2 separate regions of the Homo sapiens genome follow, and region 2 is linked to region 1. The links are contacts of gene promoters, found by promoter capture Hi-C in blood cells and fetal thymus (Javierre and others, 2016). All regions are on one chromosome and are shown on one strand. The core of a region is centred on a gene start or on the middle of the fragment in contact, and the rest is flanking DNA. Distances in the headings are between cores, read along the strand shown.

The links. Contacts are between HindIII fragments. The CHiCAGO score rates a contact against its expected background, and 5 or more counts as called.
Region 2: a fragment that was not itself captured here is called in contact with the fragment with the promoter of LINC03084 in region 1 in 14 of 17 cell types (neutrophils, endothelial precursors, naive B cells and 11 more); the score reaches 14.6 in neutrophils.

Annotation. Positions count from the first base shown.
Region 1 is chr8:105,186,198-105,190,535 of GRCh38, reverse strand. It overlaps LINC03084 (long intergenic non-protein coding RNA 3084), which reads left to right and starts at 1,741. Exons shown (of 3, transcript NR_187537.1): 1 at 1,741-2,000. The HindIII fragment of the contact is 4,322 bases long and covers 1-3,719 here.
Region 2 is chr8:104,947,861-104,952,198 of GRCh38, reverse strand. No RefSeq gene overlaps it. Among named protein-coding and RNA genes, the nearest start is that of LINC03084, 240 kb to the left of the region's middle. The HindIII fragment of the contact is 5,175 bases long and covers 1-4,338 here.

The sequences.
Region 1 (4,338 bases), core at 492-2,991:
ATAAAGAAAATGTGGTACATATACACAATGAAGTACTATTCAGACGCAAAAAAAAAAAAGACTGTTATTTCTGTCATTTTTAACAACATGGATGGAACTGGATGTCATTATGTTAAGTGAAATAAGCCAGACACAGAAAGACAAACTTTGCCTGTTCTCACTTATTTGTGGAGGCTAAAAATGAAAACAATTGAATTTATGTAGATAGAAAGTAGAAGGATGATTATGAGAGGCTGGGAAGGGTTTTGGGTAGGGGTGAAGCATAAAGGATGATTAACGTGTACAAAAAATAGAATAAATATGATCTAGTATTTGATAAAACAACAGGATGACTACAGTTAGCAATAATCTATTGTACATTTAAAAATAACTAAAAGAGCATAATTGGGTTGTTTGTAACACGAATAAAGTATAAATATTTGAGGTAATGAATATGCCACTTATTCTGATGTGATTACTATGCATTGTATGCCTGTATCAAAATATCTCATGTGCCCCATAAATATATACACATGCTACGTACCCACAAAAATTTAAAAGGAAACAAAACAGAAAAAGACAAATCACAGACTATTTTGAATTGATTTCTGTGTTTGGTGTGAGATAAAGGTCCAATTTCTATCTTTTGCATGTGAATGGCCACCTTTCCCAACACCATTTGCTGAAGGGACTATCCTTTTCCCATAGTGCCATCTTGACATCCTTGTTGAAGGATGTCAACAATGATGACATCTTGACATCCTTGTTGAAGGATGTCATGCTTGTTAATCATATATATGTAGATTTATTTGTGGCCATTCTAATCTGTTACACTGGTCTATATGTCTGTAATGCCAGTCCCATATACAAATTTTTAATCACTATAACTTCGTAATACGTTTTGAAGTCACAAAGTGTGAGGCTTTTTTTTTTTGTTATTTTTTCTCAATTTTACTTTGGTTAGTTCGGCTCTCTTATGGTTCCATATGAGGTTAAGGATGCTTTTTTATTTGTGCAACAAATGCCACTGAGATTTTGATAGGGATTCCATTGAACCTATAGATCTCTTTGGGCAATATGGGCATTTTTACAATCTTGTCTTTTAATCTATGAACATGGGATGTCTTTCCATTTATTTGTGTCTTCTTTAATTTCTTTCAGTAATGTTTTATAGTTTTTCAGTGTAGAAGACTTTCACTTCTTTGGTTAAGTTTATTCCTAAGTATTTTATATTTATTGATGCTATTGTAAGTATTGTAAGTATTGTAAGGATTGTTTTCTTAATTTTCTTTTTGGATATTTCATTGTTAGTGTATAGCCACATAAGTAATTTTTGTGATAATTTTGGATCCTGCAATGTTGCTGAATTTATTAGTTCTAACAGGTTTTTTTTTGTGGAATCTTGAGAATTTTTTGTGTACCCATGTAATCTACTAATAGAGATCATTTTACATCTTCCTTTCTGACTTGAATGCCTTTTATTTCTTTGTCTTGCTTATTTGCTCTAGCTAGGACTTCAAGAACTATGTTAAATAGAAGTGACAAGATTGGGCATTCTTGCCTTGTTCCTGATTTGAGAGGAAAATTTTTCAGTTTTTAACTGTTGAGCAAGATGTTAGCTATGGGCTTGTCATATATGGCTCTGAGATAGCAAGATAAAAACTAGTCCTCTCAGATAGGCTGCCAAAAGCCAGAAATTTGGTTGCTGGTTTTATTTCTTTTCCTCTCCAGGAGGAAGCAAGGAGTTAGAGGTTTTCTTCTACTCTTTATTTACTGAGCCAGAGGAAGCGACCATGGCCAGTGAAGGGTCCAAATTTTTGCCTTTGTTCTCAGCAGCTCTCAACTTGGCACCCCTTCCTGTCAGTGTTCTTCTAGTCAGGACATAAACCAGTCCCTTGGGCAGCTCCTGAAAAAGTCTCAACATTGGACATATGTTTCAGTCTTCTCTTTCCATTCCAAGGGAGAAACTGAGATCTGGGAGTTTTCTCTCAATTGCATTGCACTGAGGAAGAGGGCCTATGGTAAGTGTTTGCCATGAATCTTCCTACTGGCATTGGTGCAGCTGGGTTTGTGTTTGCCTGGGATGCTGGAACCTTTTAGTTGGTTTCTGGATTTCTCACAAAGGGAAATGGTCTGTATTGTTGTTGAATTGCTTTCTCCTTAGAGGAAAGAGAGGCTAGGGCTCCCTATTCAATCATCTTGCTGATGTCCATTTAATTCCTCCAAAGATGTTTGTCTTGTAGCCCACTAAATTCCTATTCTAAGACTGCCAATTATTTTCTGTGTTTACCAAACGCTGTCATTCTAGAGTCTGTTTTCTTTAGCTTCCAGGGTGAATTTCCTCGCTTCTTATATTGCACAATTTGTCTTTCTTAGTTTCTGTTTCTGTTTTCTGATTCATTATCACGAATGATATCATTAAGAACCATCCTCAGAAAAGGAACATGAGAGGTAAATTCAAGATTTGAAAGCCTTAAAATATTTTATTTTGTTTTTACTCCTGATTAGTATCGGGCAGGGTTTAGAATTTTATATTCTGAATTTTGAAGTCTTTTTTTATTGTGTGATATCAACAAATGGTGCTGATAAGTCAAATTATAGATGGAAAATAATTCTAAAGGAAGTTTTAGATTTATCTATTTGTTGTACTGAAATTTCATGTCTCTAGAAGTACTTCTTTTTACATCTATTTTCTTATTTTCCTATGGACCTTCTCTTTAGCTTTGGGGCATCGACATTAAGTTATAGGTTAGTTATGAGTTGATTACTCGTGACTGTATGAAAAATAAAATTTTAAGCAGAATATGCTTTCTAAAATATTTGTCTATAATCTGCCAAACATCCTTTTTGTTATTCAATATTGGTAATCCAGAATAGATTCATATATGTTCTATCACGTATAAGCAAACATAAACTAAATACAAGAAATACTCTTGGAAATAAATAAAATAACCTAAGTGTCCTTTGATAAAATAATTCAAGATTAAATCGTTGTAGTCTATTATTCAATAATACTAAATTTACCATTCAGAAAAGGGAACAAAATTGCTCAGAAAAAAATTGAGCTCTTTGCCATCCTTATACGCAAAGAAGAGGTTTATGGTTCTTTAGTCCTCGTAAGAAACATATGAAATTGTATTTTTAATTTCCTAACAGGGAGCCATTGGTTAACTTATTTTTAGCTTGCAATTAGTAGAAGAAAATATCTCATATAGCAAATATTACAGTGTAATCTGATTTTACCTCTTGCAGAGTTTAGTAAACAAATAAACCCCACAACAATGACAACACAACATAAAAAAGTTTGGCTTTAAGCAAAAATACATCTATATTATTATCCTACAACATGGTATTCAAAACTTACATAATTTTGCTTCCATTTTTTCCAAAGATGCTAGATTATATGCTTTTACCATGCCTCAGCCATTTGGAAATAGACAGATAGTGCATAAAGATAAACTCAGTGTTAATTCAAGAAGGAAAACAGGAATCTACTGAAATAATGAAAAGCATCCAAGATCTCAGAGAGAATGCTGGCAAAAATCCCAATGATGGCATCTGCCTGACAAAAGTAAGTGAAGCCTCAGTAAGTGAGAGATGCAGAGAGCTGCCCTATATGACTCACCTTTCCACTAGGGATCTGAGCAACCCAAGGGAGAGCACTTTGTTTCTCTCAAACCCTGAAACTAACTTGAGGAGAGGCTTGGAGATGCCATGAGGGAAAGACAGTGGGAAAAGCTTCAGACATTTTCCTAGACCTGGGATTGAGAGGAGGACAACATTTTTAATCTGGTTGCATGATCTGGTCAGCCATTCTTTGGTAACCTGGCAGCATGGTCACACAGACATTTGAGTCTCAGGCCAGACATTGGAGTGCCTGCTCTGGGGCCGGGTTGTGGCCTCCACAGCCAGAACTGTGGAAAGCACCTCAACAGTAGGCGCTGGAATTGTGCTCTTCCTTGTGACAAGTCTAGGGTGGGGAGAGCTTCTAAAGCTGCAGTTTATCCTAGGCAGTGAGACTTGCAGGTAGAGCCAGTTCAGTGACCTGGAACCAGTCTGTGGATGCCATTGCTGGGTGCCCCAGCCTGCTTCCCTGAAATCACGGTGAAATGGGGCCATCTCCACTCCACCCCCAGGCATATATCCAGGCATTTAGAGCACCTGATTGCCTGAATCATCAGCATGAGCTGTCTCACCCTTCATGAACATAGATCAAGGTGCAGTGGGGCCCTCTCCACTCCGTGCCCAGGAAGATATCCAGGCATTTAGAGCACCCATTCACCTAGTTTAGCAGCTTGAGCTGCCCTGCCCTTCCTGGACCTAGATTGTGGTGCAGCAAGTCTTTCTTTGCTCCATGTG
Region 2 (4,338 bases), core at 634-3,133, 240 kb after region 1:
ATGTGAATTTCTTTTAAGATGCCACATAATTTTAACCTTTCATCTCGACATAAATTTTCATTTCTTATTTAAATTTTGGAAAATTCTTGAAATAATTTCACAAGAGAATGTTATAAAATGCTCATTTAAGACTTAAATAATATTTTAAATTCTTAAAGTCAGAGCAACTGTGTCTAGACATTTTTAAATGAAATAATTTATGTCAAAATAAAAAATATTCAAATACCTATGTTACCACTATTCAGGGAAAAATAAAAAGCTACGATTTTTTTAAGAAAAAGTATAATTAAAACAAATAATTTGACAGAAACTTCTTTTACTGTTATTGGAATAAAGTTTCATGAGATGTTTATGTTCTTATAAGATTTTAAATAGCATTTTCTGGATTCCAATAGAGATGTGTCAATCATTTGAATCATAATAAGCCAGAAGTTCTCTTTTTATGTTAAACAAATAAATCAAAGTGAAATTCTACTTGGGCAAAAGGTGAAATTAAGTTTAAGTGACCATATTCATGAATAAAATCACTATGAAGCACAATTAAATGCATTTTTGCTACTATTATAAATGAGAAATTTTCCCATTATACCTATATTTTAATTTATAATTGGAAATTGAATTCCTGGTACTCAGATTGATCCCATCCAGAGTTTTACTTTGAAGTTTGACCTCAGAATTTGTGCAATAATATCAAGTAGATGATAAAATTACAGGGGAAATTGTGTAATAATAGCACGCCTGTAGAAATCTTTACTTGCATAGCCATGATTCTTGGACACCAACCGGCCCTTGTTTTACATAAGGATATAATATCCCTGTCTATTTGAACCCCATGTTACCAAAGAGCTAAAACACAGATCTGGTTTAATTAAACAGCAAGACCCAACAGAAAGGATCCAATCAAGATGAATAATATTTCTGCTTCTCTCGCCAAAACAAAATAGACTGCTTGAGTGCTTTATGTTCAGGCGCAGCAAGCCAATGCATGCTGGGTGTCATGTCAGATGATAATTCAAGAGTTAAAAAAGACGGAATTCTCATTCACATATGAGAAGCTGCTATCAGCTCCCTTATCGACCTTATGTGTGCTCATGGGTAAGATGCACTGTTACTCATCATAAGATGAGAAATTGATTTATCTGGATAAACTGTTAGAGGAATCTGATGGTCTCATTAGTAAGGTGCTTCCGGGCCAGCAACACTGCCTCCTCTTACTAAGGAAGACCCTTACTAAGGATCAAATGTGCTCCTGGAGAACTACAACAGGATTTGGCCCTAAATTTCCAGATAATGATGGTCGAGTAGGGCTTGATTTATTCTACGTGTTGCTTTTATTCTCTCTATTGATTCCTACAAAATAAAGATGGCCAACCCTGGTACAGAATTAGAAATAATTAGAATCAGTTGTTATTTACTCATGATTTTATTTTTTGCAGAAGTTGAGGAGTGGGTGGGGAGGGGGTGGCAGGCGAGGGGAAATGTGTCCTTTGAATAGCTGCCTCTGGAAGAAATATTCTGGTAAAAAAACTGCTTCCAGTGTTTGTCTAAAATAAAGAAATAAATAAATGTGGCGTCGGGTGAATCACATCAAAATCTCAAGACAATTCCAAGATGAACCAACTCGAAGAGTAAATGACCTCTTCATCTGGGTGATAAAGTTCCAGCCAAAATATTCTCTGGGCCTGAGACGTGATTCATTAGAAATATGTGCATGGTGTGGCGCTCCCCTCTCTATCTGGCAGAGTCCAGTCTGCACGCTGATAAGAAGCAAATGCAAATGTCCTGATAAGAACTGAATGCAAATATTTATGATATGATATTCCCTGGGAATTATGTGCAGATAAAACAAAGTGTATTATTTTCCTGCTTCTCTTTCAGGTTTGCCAAAATGCCCTTTTTCGCTTTTGGAATTTGCATTTCTTCAAAATTGATTCGGCTTGCGTATTATGTTAAGCTATTTGTTTGCTAAGGATGGTAATTAGTTACTGTAATTACAGCAATGACAGTTGCTAAATTGTTTTTAAAGCATTACAGTGAGCCTGTGCCAGAAGATTGCAGTATTTTTTTGGATTTAAGCAGAGGCTGGAAAAACTCCCACTCTAGGGCCAGCATGGGATTTTCAACTACAAAGCTGCTTTTCCTGATTGAAATTTTTAAAAAAATCATTAATTTGCATTGATTGCAAGTGCTAACTTTACATTTAGGTTTATTCACATATCACAGAAATATTAGTGATAGTGGACCTTGGCGTAGAGGAGACACAAGGGGACACTCATCGTAAATAAAAGTGAAAGCTGATAGCAGAGGAAAAATGGTATAACTGTTACTTGGAGCCTGTTAATTAAACTTTTTAGCCTGTTTTTAGATAAATTAAAAACAATTAAAAATGTTTCTCTGAAAGTCATTTCCAAACTTTTCTGAGCACTCCTGGTTAAAATGAGTAATGTGGAAAAGAATAGTTTGGCCATATTCTATTTTTGACATGTGGAAAGTAACAGAAACAAGGAGAAAGGTTATTTACCCAAATATTCCTCACAGATTGAGTTTAAAAGAAAATAATTGAGGAGGAGAGACTTGAGCTATAGTACATGTCCGAGACGGTTTGTATGATTTATGCTGTATAACTGTGACTCAGAGGTTAAAGGCAGGGAATGTGGTTCTCTGTGCTGTTTGTTGTCACAAGTGTCTTCTAACAGTACTTCATAAAGTCTAGAGGATTCAGGTGAGCTCAAGTTTTGTTCTCAGTTACATGAAGTCAAAAGAATACAAAGTTTCAGTGCATAATTTAAGGGTACAGGTTTTTATACTCATATATTCGTACTCACAAATGTCTCATAGATAATAACTACTACTATATGTTAAATGTTGTTATTCCTCTACTGCAAGAAAGTTAGCTACCATCATAACAATAATAACAACAGCAGCTAACATTCATTGACATTTTTCCAAATTCTGGGCACAATGCAAAGTATATTACCACATTCTCTCAACAATTTTTGAGATGTTATTAGCTCCACTTTACAGAATGAAATACTGAAGGTTAGAGTTAGAACTTGCTCAATGTCATATTTCTGGTAAAAACTGAACATGAAATTCAAATCCAGGCATCCTGAGTTCACAACCTGTGCTCTTAACTTGACAGGAAAGAACTTTCCATTTTAATGTAAATAAATAATAAACAAATAAATATTTGTTGAAGTCTTGACTTTGTCCTTTAATCTACAGCTAAACTGAAAGCTAAACCATAAAGTCAAGATGTCAAAAATCAAATTTTTATCTTGAAGTTTGTTCTCCTGAAATTTTATTCTATTTACTTGTTGCAGAGATAAATGTAAATTTTTTTTATTATGACTCCAATAGTACCAGCACTTCATGAGAAATCTGACTTTTCACAAAAAGAATTACTTCCTAGGAACTGACTACTTCTGCTCCAAAAAGACTCAACAAATTTAGTTTGTGTATTTTTCATCATATGAGAACTTTAAATCCCAGTTTGTGTAACATGGTTTTTATATTTGTATGAATACAGATAAAATTGGTGAATTGGTATGTTACTCATTTAAAAACTGAGTTTTGAAAATGACCTCATGCTGTGGATACCTATGTTTGACCCTCATTCTGTAAAGCTGTTTCATGCATGACACAAATCAAATAGCTCCACTATGGGAGGCAAGTATCTTCCATGTACACACACATACATATACACGAGGCATTAGTCAATGCAATTTATACAAGCAGTGTTTCCAATTAACATATTCAACAACCGGTCTTTATGAAGTCACCCCTAATATACTCTCACCCCCTTCAAGCTGGTTATCTCTTCAATTCCTCAACCTGCATGACACTATACTTTTACCTCTTTTAGTGTTTGTCAAAAGACTTATGGTGCCTTTTATGAACCTAGCTCATTGTGTACATATTCATCTCCTTCAATAGACTGGAAGCTCTTTGAATGCTGGGTCTTTTGTATCTCCTGGATCTAGCACAGAGCTTGGTACATGGTAAATGCCCAATAAAGACTTGATGAATAACCACTGAACTCATGTAAACAACCACACATTTTAGTGACACAGGCAATGAGCATTTATTTCTCACCCATGGGTCTACAAGGCAGCTAGGACAGCTCTGCTTCAGGCTGGGGGTCAACTGGTCTATATAGCATTTGTGTCAATTTGGATCCAGTCTAGAGGGGCCCAGCCTGAATCCAGAATTGAAGGCACACCTAGAGCATATTTTTCTCATGATGGAAGGCAGAAACTACCAGGTAGCTAAGTGGAAACATGTGATGTCTTTTAAGGACAAGGCTTAGAACTGTAGAACTGATACCCTTCACTTTGA